Regions from separate parts of the Homo sapiens genome. Here region 1 is linked to region 2. The links are contacts of gene promoters, found by promoter capture Hi-C in human tissues and cell types (Jung and others, 2019). All regions are on one chromosome and are shown on one strand. The core of a region is centred on a gene start or on the middle of the fragment in contact, and the rest is flanking DNA. Distances in the headings are between cores, read along the strand shown. Region 1 overlaps CFAP92 (cilia and flagella associated protein 92 (putative)). Region 2 holds the start of COPG1 (coat protein complex I subunit gamma 1).

Evidence for each region. Contacts are between HindIII fragments. The study calls those that stand out against the background at their distance.
Region 1: a contact is called between a fragment that was not itself captured here and the fragment with the promoter of COPG1 in region 2, in 2 of the 25 tissues and cell types used here (bladder and mesendoderm cells).

What each region holds. Positions count from the first base shown.
Region 1 is chr3:128,920,661-128,924,579 of GRCh38, reverse strand. The region is part of intron 12 of CFAP92 (cilia and flagella associated protein 92 (putative)); the gene reads left to right. Among named protein-coding and RNA genes, the nearest start is that of ACAD9, 43 kb to the right of the region's middle. The HindIII fragment of the contact is 6,238 bases long and covers 1-3,919 here.
Region 2 is chr3:129,247,680-129,251,606 of GRCh38, reverse strand. COPG1 (coat protein complex I subunit gamma 1) reads right to left here and starts at 2,001. Exons shown (of 24, transcript NM_016128.4): 1 at 1,861-2,001; 2 at 873-925. The coding sequence starts at 1,897. The HindIII fragment of the contact is 12,995 bases long and covers 1-3,927 here.

The sequences.
Region 1 (3,919 bases), core at 890-3,389, 330 kb after region 2:
CCAGCTACTTGGGAGGCTGAGGCAGGAGAATCACATGAACCCAGGGGATGGAGGTTGCAGTGAGCCAAGATCGCGCCATTGCACTCCAGCCTGGGCAACAAGAGCGAAACTCTGTCTCAAAAAAAAAAAAAAAAAAAAAAAAAAAAAGATACAATCGTTCTATGAGCCTGGGAGTGCTAGAAGGAAGGAGCCAGCAAGTCTAGACACATTCCAGAGGCCGCAAGGGGTTTTATGCCCTGAGCCCTGGATTCCATCCAAGCCATGAGGGGTTTTGTGCCCTGGGCTTAGATTGTGGTGCAGCAGGGCAGCCTTCCACCCTTTGGCACAGAGCTTGGTGTTCCAAAGGCCATGAGGGGTTTTGGACCCTGGACCCCAGACATGTTCCAAGACTCTTTTACATTATATCAGACATGCAAGTCCTGCCTCAGCTTTTTTCCCAACACTCAGCTTTTCCCCAACATGCCCCCTTTTCTTTTTTGTAAAACCGCCACAGCTATCATAGCTTGTTCTCGACGGCAGCTGTCTCTCCCGAGGTGGCTTCCGCATCTGCAGACTAAAAGGAGACAGCACAAACACATAATTATTAGAACAAAATCTGCCAAGTATAGAGCTTCCAATGGCCTTAATCCATTTAAGAGGATTGATTGTGGACAACCCATTGGCTGTCTTGTTCAAAATATCAGTTCCAGGGAGCAGGGCTAAGTGAGCCTGAGAGGCTTCAAAAACCTTCTCTTTTAGTTTTACAATATCAAGGGTGAGATTTTCATCTTTGCCCTCCAGATGGCATTTAAGAGTAACATTTCCTATTGCTAGCATAAAAGGTGGCCGAACACAACTTTGAATCCAAAAGGTCTTTCTGTTTTTAAATTAATTGAGCAAGGCAATTGCAGGCTGTTCAGCCCTTAATTGCCAGTTGGTGATCCAGCTTCATTTGTCTTAGCCCTTATTCAAAATGTAGTCGCTCTGGTTTGAATGCTTCTTACATATTTCCCCCTTCCCTTTTACAAAAGGACCTTTAATCCTAAGGGCTGCAGAAGGATGAAGGTCCATCTTCTGCAACTTCTTCATGCTGAACAGGGGCGATGATATTCCTGCCTATTAGGGTCTCTTGTATTCAGGGTAGAGAGGAGCTCAGTCAGAAAGCATTGGTCCATTAAGCATCTGTTGTGCCCCTGAGTTCCTGCAAAAGGTAAAACCCTGGCGCTGCAGCAGTTTCTCAGCTTCCTGTGTGGTTTTCTTGATCTGCCCCCATGTTATGGGGGTTGATGTCAGCGTGACTCCAGTCGGTCCTCATTCCATCTTCGCATTCAGATTCAACTGGCCCATGGCTCGTACTGGGGGAACCCCCTCCATGGTTGGGTCCCTCCAGTCTCCTGTTCCATGGTCGTACACATCTTGAGGGCACCCACACGGCTTGTTCATCTCCTGCAAAAACACAAGCATACCCTCAACCCCACGTTAGTAAATCTAGCGAAACAGAAGCAAAAACTTTTGTGGCTGTAGCTGGGAGGCATACCATTGGTGAAGCATTTGTTCTACAAGCTGTAACTCAGCTTCTGCCTCTTTGGTTAATTACCATGGGGTAAAACTTTCCACTGATAATGAGAAGCAGGCCCCTTCTAACAGAAGGCACAGAGAGCAAATCGAAGCTTATCCTTCTTGTGCAACAGTATAGCAAAAAAGCAATCCTTAAACCTTAAATTTGCACCATACAGGTGGGTCCACTAGATGCTGTGGCTCATGATAGATCTTCAGATGTTTGGTGGGCACTCCATTGTTGCAATAAGTCTCTACCTCATAAATTGATAGGAATAGGTGTAATAATAGGTTGAATTGTTCCTTCCTGGCCATCTGGCCCGTGACATGGTAAAATCAAGGAACTTTGAAAAACTTCTGAAGCAGGCCCTATGCCAGTGATACCCATGGAAGTCTTTTGTTTGGGCCAGTGTTGGGGCCATTGATTTAAAGCAATAATAGAGACATCAGCTTCAGTATTTACTAGTCCTTCAAAATCCTTTCCCTGAATAGTTACTGTACAAATAGGTCTTCTGTCAGACACTAGATTAACCCAATATACAGCCTTTCCTGCTGGATTACTACCAAAGCCTCCTGTTCTTTTCACTGTGCTGCTTCCTAGTTTTGTGTAAGGTAACAGCAATAACTAAGCAATTCTTTCTCCTGGGGAAGAAGACCACTGAGTCGAGGAACTAATAACTAATTGAATTTTTTTTTTTTTTGAGATGGAGCCTTGCTCTATTGCCCAGGCTGGAGTGCAGTGGCACGATCTTGACTCACTGCAAGCTCCACCTCCTGGGTTCACTCCATTCTCCTGCCTCAGCCTCCCTGAGAGCTGGGACTACAGGTGCCCGCCACCATGCCCAGCTAATTTTTTTTTTGTATTTTTAGTAGAGACGGGGTTTCACCGTGTTAGCCAGAATGGTCTCGATCTCCTGACCTCGTGATCTGCCCACCTCAGCCTCCCAAAGTGCTAGGATTACAGGCATGAGCCACCGCGCCCAGCAAACTAATTGAATTTCTCCGGTATAATCAGAGTCAATTATTCCCGTATGCACTGACACCTCTTAAATTTAAACTAGACCTTCCAAGTAACAGACCAACTGTTCCTGAGGGTAAGGGTTCCCTAACACCCGTGGGGACCTTCTTTGGTGGCTCCCCAGGAAGGAGATGGGAATTGTGCTGCAAAGGTCTATAGCAGCACTGCCTACTATGGTGGGAGACAATTGTTGTATGTTTGTAAGGGCACTGGCTGTGCCGGATATGCCTTGGTTTGTTGAGGGGCCTGAGGCAGGCCCCTCTTCCCATTTCCCGAAAGAGGTTGTCCATCTTTGCTAAATTTAGAATGACACTGATTTGCCCAGTGATTGCCTTTCTTACACTGGGGGCATACACTGGGACTTTTCTGTTGATTGATGGTAGTTTTTGCCTTTTGATTTCCTTTTCTACATTCCTTTTTTCTGTGTCCAAATTGCCCACAATTGAAACAATGGCCCAAGAAATGGGGCATATTCTTTCCTACTTTCAATCCAGCCATAGCCTGAGCTAAAAGATTAGCCTTATGTAAGTTACCTCCAATGCCATCGCAAGCCTTAATACATTCAGCTAACTGAACCTTCCCTGTCAGGGGTCTAATAGCAGTTTGACACTGCATTAGCATTATTGTATGTAAGAAGCTGTATTAAAACATCCTGAGCAGAATGTTTGCTTTCACTTTGTGCCATTGTTACCCTGGTCCTTCCGAGTGCTCAGCTTTCCTGCTGAGCTTCTTTCAGTCGTCCTCGGGTGTCCTCTGATGATGCATCCTCTTTCACACACTCTAGTGTTCCTTCACTGGGGTGTTCGTTGCCTCATATTGGGCGCCAGGAATGTTGGGGTGATCAGACCCAACTCCAGGCTGTGGGGACTATGAAGTCCGGCAGAGTCAAACAGATGAGACAAGAGTGCATAAAGTGGGACCAGGGGGCCAACACTAGTATGGAGGCTGTGAAGGCCCCGAGCTCTGGAAGCCCACACTATTTATTGGTGATCAAAGAAGCAGGTGGTGAGGATGTGGGGGTTGAAAGAAAGCAGTGTATCAAGTGCATGATCTACAGCTGTGATGGTTTAGAATTTTCTTTGAAGCATATGGAACATGTTCTGCTACTTGAGATAATGGGAAACGTATTCTTCTAGTTTAAGACACAATCGATCTATGAGCCTTGGAGTGCTAGAAGCAAGGAGCCAACAAGTCGAGACACATTCCAGAGGCCACGAGGGGTTTTATGCGCTGTTCCCTGGATTCCGTCCAAGCCACGCCCTTGTGGCTTGTGCCCTGGGCTTAGATTGTAGTGCGGCAGGGCAGCCTTCCACCCTTTGGAACAGAGCTTGGTGTTCCAAAGGCCACAAGGGGTTTTAGACCCTG
Region 2 (3,927 bases), core at 752-3,251:
ACCATTCTCCTGCCTGGCCAACATCGTGAAACCTCATCTCTACTAAAAATATAAAAATCAGCCAGGCATAGTGGCGTGCGCCTGTAGTCCCGGCTACTTGGGAGGCTGAGACAGAAAAATTGCTTGAACCCAGGAGGCAGAGGTTGCAGTTGAGCCGAGATCGTGCCACTGCACTCCAGCCTGAGCAACAGAGTGAGACGCCTTCTAAAAAAAAATACATATATATATATATATAAAAAATATATATAATAAAAATAAACAAGTCATGCAAAATCTCTACCTGCATAATGGCCACAGTCTAGCTTAGGTGATAGTTTTAAACCAGTTTCCTTAGCTTTGGAATTAACTTTAAATAGAGAAATTTTTTAAATGTTTAAATAGAGAGGCCAGGCGCGGTGGCTCAAGCCTGTAATCCCAGCACTTTGGGAGGCCGAGGCGGGTGGATCACGAGGTCAGGAGATCAAGACCGTCCTGGCTAACGCGGTGAAACCCCGTCTCTACTAAAAATACAAAAAATTAGCCGGGTGTGGTGGCGGGCGTCTGTAGTCCCAGCTACTTGGGAGGCTGAGGCAGGAGAATGGCGTGAACCTGGAAGGCGGAGCTTGCAGTGAGCCGAGATCACGCCACTGCACTCCAGCCTGAGCGACAGAGCAAGACTCTGTCTCAGAAAAAAAAAAAAAAAAAAAAAAAAAAAGAAGTAAGCATAACTAACTCTCTCCAGAAACAAAGTTTTCCTGTCTTCCAGAAAACTTCCAGGCACAAGTTTTCTCCCGTGTTGCTCTTTAAAACAACACTTTGAATGTGTTGGTATTTCAGTTGCATTGGTGGTGAATATTTATGATGGAAGCTAGAGGGGAGCAAATGTCACTTGCCTCCTGGAGTACCGCACTCTTCTCAAGGTGCTGGAATGGGTTGGAGCCTCCACCTACGGTCAAGGACAATGGAGAAGGTAGGTTGTGACTCTGAACTTCAAAACTCTCCCAGACATAGGTAAAGGGAAGATGTCCCTTCCTAGGAAATCTAGTAAAGTTCAAACTCCTCAGGAATGGCAATCAAGCCTCTACAATCTGTCTAGGGATCCTACTAGTCTCCTGCAAGCAGGTGGGCTCCACTCTACCCCAAACCACTCACAATCTCCCAGCAGCCCTGGTACAGTCCTGTGCTTCTCATGGTGCCATGTCTTGTGTTCATTTATATAACTTGTAATTAACTAAGTCCCTATGTGCCAGGGACCACCATCTCGTTGTAACTAGTTCCTTCATAGCAGATGACACATTTGCAAATAATTACACGTGTGATTATCTGGTTGATGTCTGCCTCCTCCATCGTGGGTGCAACCATTCTAATATTCCTAGCTCAGGCACTGAGTGTCCCACTTGCTCTGTTGCAGTATCCAGGACACCGTACAGTACCTGGCATACAGTAACTGCTCAATATACTTTGCTGAATAAATGAATGATGGGGTCAGAGTTCCCAGTCACAGGACGCTGGCTCCGCAGGTTACACCCCAGTTTGGCCAGCACCAACGTAGCCCCAGCGAATCCCAAGAGGTTGGACGAAGAAAGTAACAAGAGAACATTCGGCATGGTCCCCTCCTTTGACAGATGGGTAAATTGAGGCCTGGGGGGGGGGGTGTTTGTCGCGCCCAAGGTCACCCAGAAAATTGCAGTCCGAGCTTACAAGAGTGAGACAGCCGCGCATGCTCGGGCTCTCCGAGGCCTGCCACTGACTAGCTGTGGACCCTGGCACAAGCCCCTGCCCCTCACTGGGCCTCAGCCTCCGGGTCAGGACAGAGAACCAGAAGGAAAGCTCGGCGGGTGGGGGTCCGGCCTCCCTCAGACCCAGGCCTGGCCCCCTCACCTGACTCCTCATCCTTCTTGTCGAATTTCTTCAACATAGTGGAGTCGGTGGGGCGCAATGCAGCAACGCAATGCTCGACGGGCGCGGCACGGAGTAGCGGTGCCACAGTGGTTCTACAGGGACCACTTCCGGGCCCCGACTGGCCACGTCGCCCAGCGCTCTGCGCAGGCGCATTCCGCGCTCTGCGCCTGCGCTCTTTCCGGTAGCCACAGCCTCGTCTAATGTTAACCTTAGCTCCGCCGGAGCGGGAGTGGGGAAAGCCAGACGGAGGGGCAAGGGCTAGGTGCAGGGGGGTACTGACTAGCATCCCAACTCTGCTCCCTACGCTTCTTTCCGTATACCAAGGGAGGAGGAGGAGCCCCTGCCTCGTTGCGTTGTGGCGTGAGTCTTTGTGGCTTTCGGGTGTGAGGTTGGTGGCACACACTGGCCCGCAGTAAACACCCAATTGATGTGACCGGTCTATGACTGTTATTGCCACCTTCCGAAGGAGCCTTGCCAGCCACTCACTCCTCGCTTTCAGATTCTTTCCCCTGCCTGATTTCCTCCTCAGCTCGAATCGCCATCTAACACTTTATTTTTACTTTCTGGCTTTTATTTGTTTATTTATTTCTCGTTCTGCTGCCCAGGCTGTGGTGCAGTTGTGCGATCCTGGCTCACTGCAGCCTACAGTTCCTGGGCTCAAGCGATCCTCCCACCTCAGCCTCCCGAGTAGAGCTGGGCGCACCACCCCCGACTAATTTTTTAATTTTTGTAGAGACGAGGTCTCACTATGATGTTGCCCAGTCTGGTCTTGAACTCGTGGCCTCAAGCGATCCTCCTTTCTCGACCTTCCAAAGTGCTGGGATTACAGCGGTGAGCCACTGCACCCGGCCACTTTCTTGCTCTTTTGTTTTTTTTTTTGTTATTTGCTTGTTTGTTTGTCTTTTATTCACTGCAGTGGATAATGTTGGCACATAGTAGTTGCTCAGTGAGTTCTCGTTGAATGAATGCGTGCAATTGCATTTTTAATTTATATCTGCCGGGCCCTATCTCGTCTGCTCCTGATGCAAATTGCCTTGTACATTATCAACCTTAAGAGATCTAACTAAACAGCATAGAACTTCTACGTTATTTTGTAAATACTTTGGATATTTATGGAGTGCCAACTAGATGCGCTGCCTACGCGGGGAGGTGGGGGGAAGGGCGTGGGAAGGAACGGAAAGGGGAAAATGACACATCACCCAGGGTTTATCTTCCTGGGGACCTATGCAGGACACCCTGAGGCTAAGGTAAGCACAGTGCATGCCAGTGAGCCAGATTGCATTGGCAATGGCAAAGTCGTGATGGCCAAGCGCTGCGACACGGCCCCAGCTTGCCTGGGGAGGGGAAGCCCGCAGGCCTGTGGGCAGGAGAAGGAGTGGGCTGTGGAGAGGAGAGGCAGGAGGCTGAGGCAGAGGCCCCAGGTGAAAAGGGTGACCGCAAAGCTGGAGGAAGGGAGATGTCAGAGGGGCCAGCCCTTAGGGTCTGGCTTTGCAGAGGCTAGGGCCAAGGACAACAGATCTTGTGACATGCAAAATTGTCAAGAGTCAGAAAGATGTTCAAAATGTCTGATCGGTAACCCCACCCCTAATCAGGAGGAAATTGTTCAAAAGAAGAAAATGAGGCCGGGCGCAGTGTCTCAAGCCTGTAATCCCAGCACTTTGGAAGGCTGAGGCAGGTGGATCACCTGAGGTCAGGAGTTTGAGAGCAGCCTGACCAACATGGTGAAACCCCATCTCTACTAAATACAAAAAAAAAAAAAATTAGCCTGGCGTGGTGGTGCATACCTGTAATCCCAGCTACTCGGGAGGCTGAGGCAGGAGAATCGTTTGAACCTGGGAGGCGGAGGCTGCAGTGAGCTGAGATCACGCCGTTGCACTCCAGCCTGGAGTCTGGGCAACAAAAGCGAAACTGTCTCAAAAAAAAGAAAAAAGAAAATGAAGTTGCCTGCTGCAGCAGTTTGCAGCAAAATAATTGTAAACACCCTAAATGTCTATCAATAAAGGGATGATTAAGGAAGTTATGGTACATCTGAGGACTAAACTGATT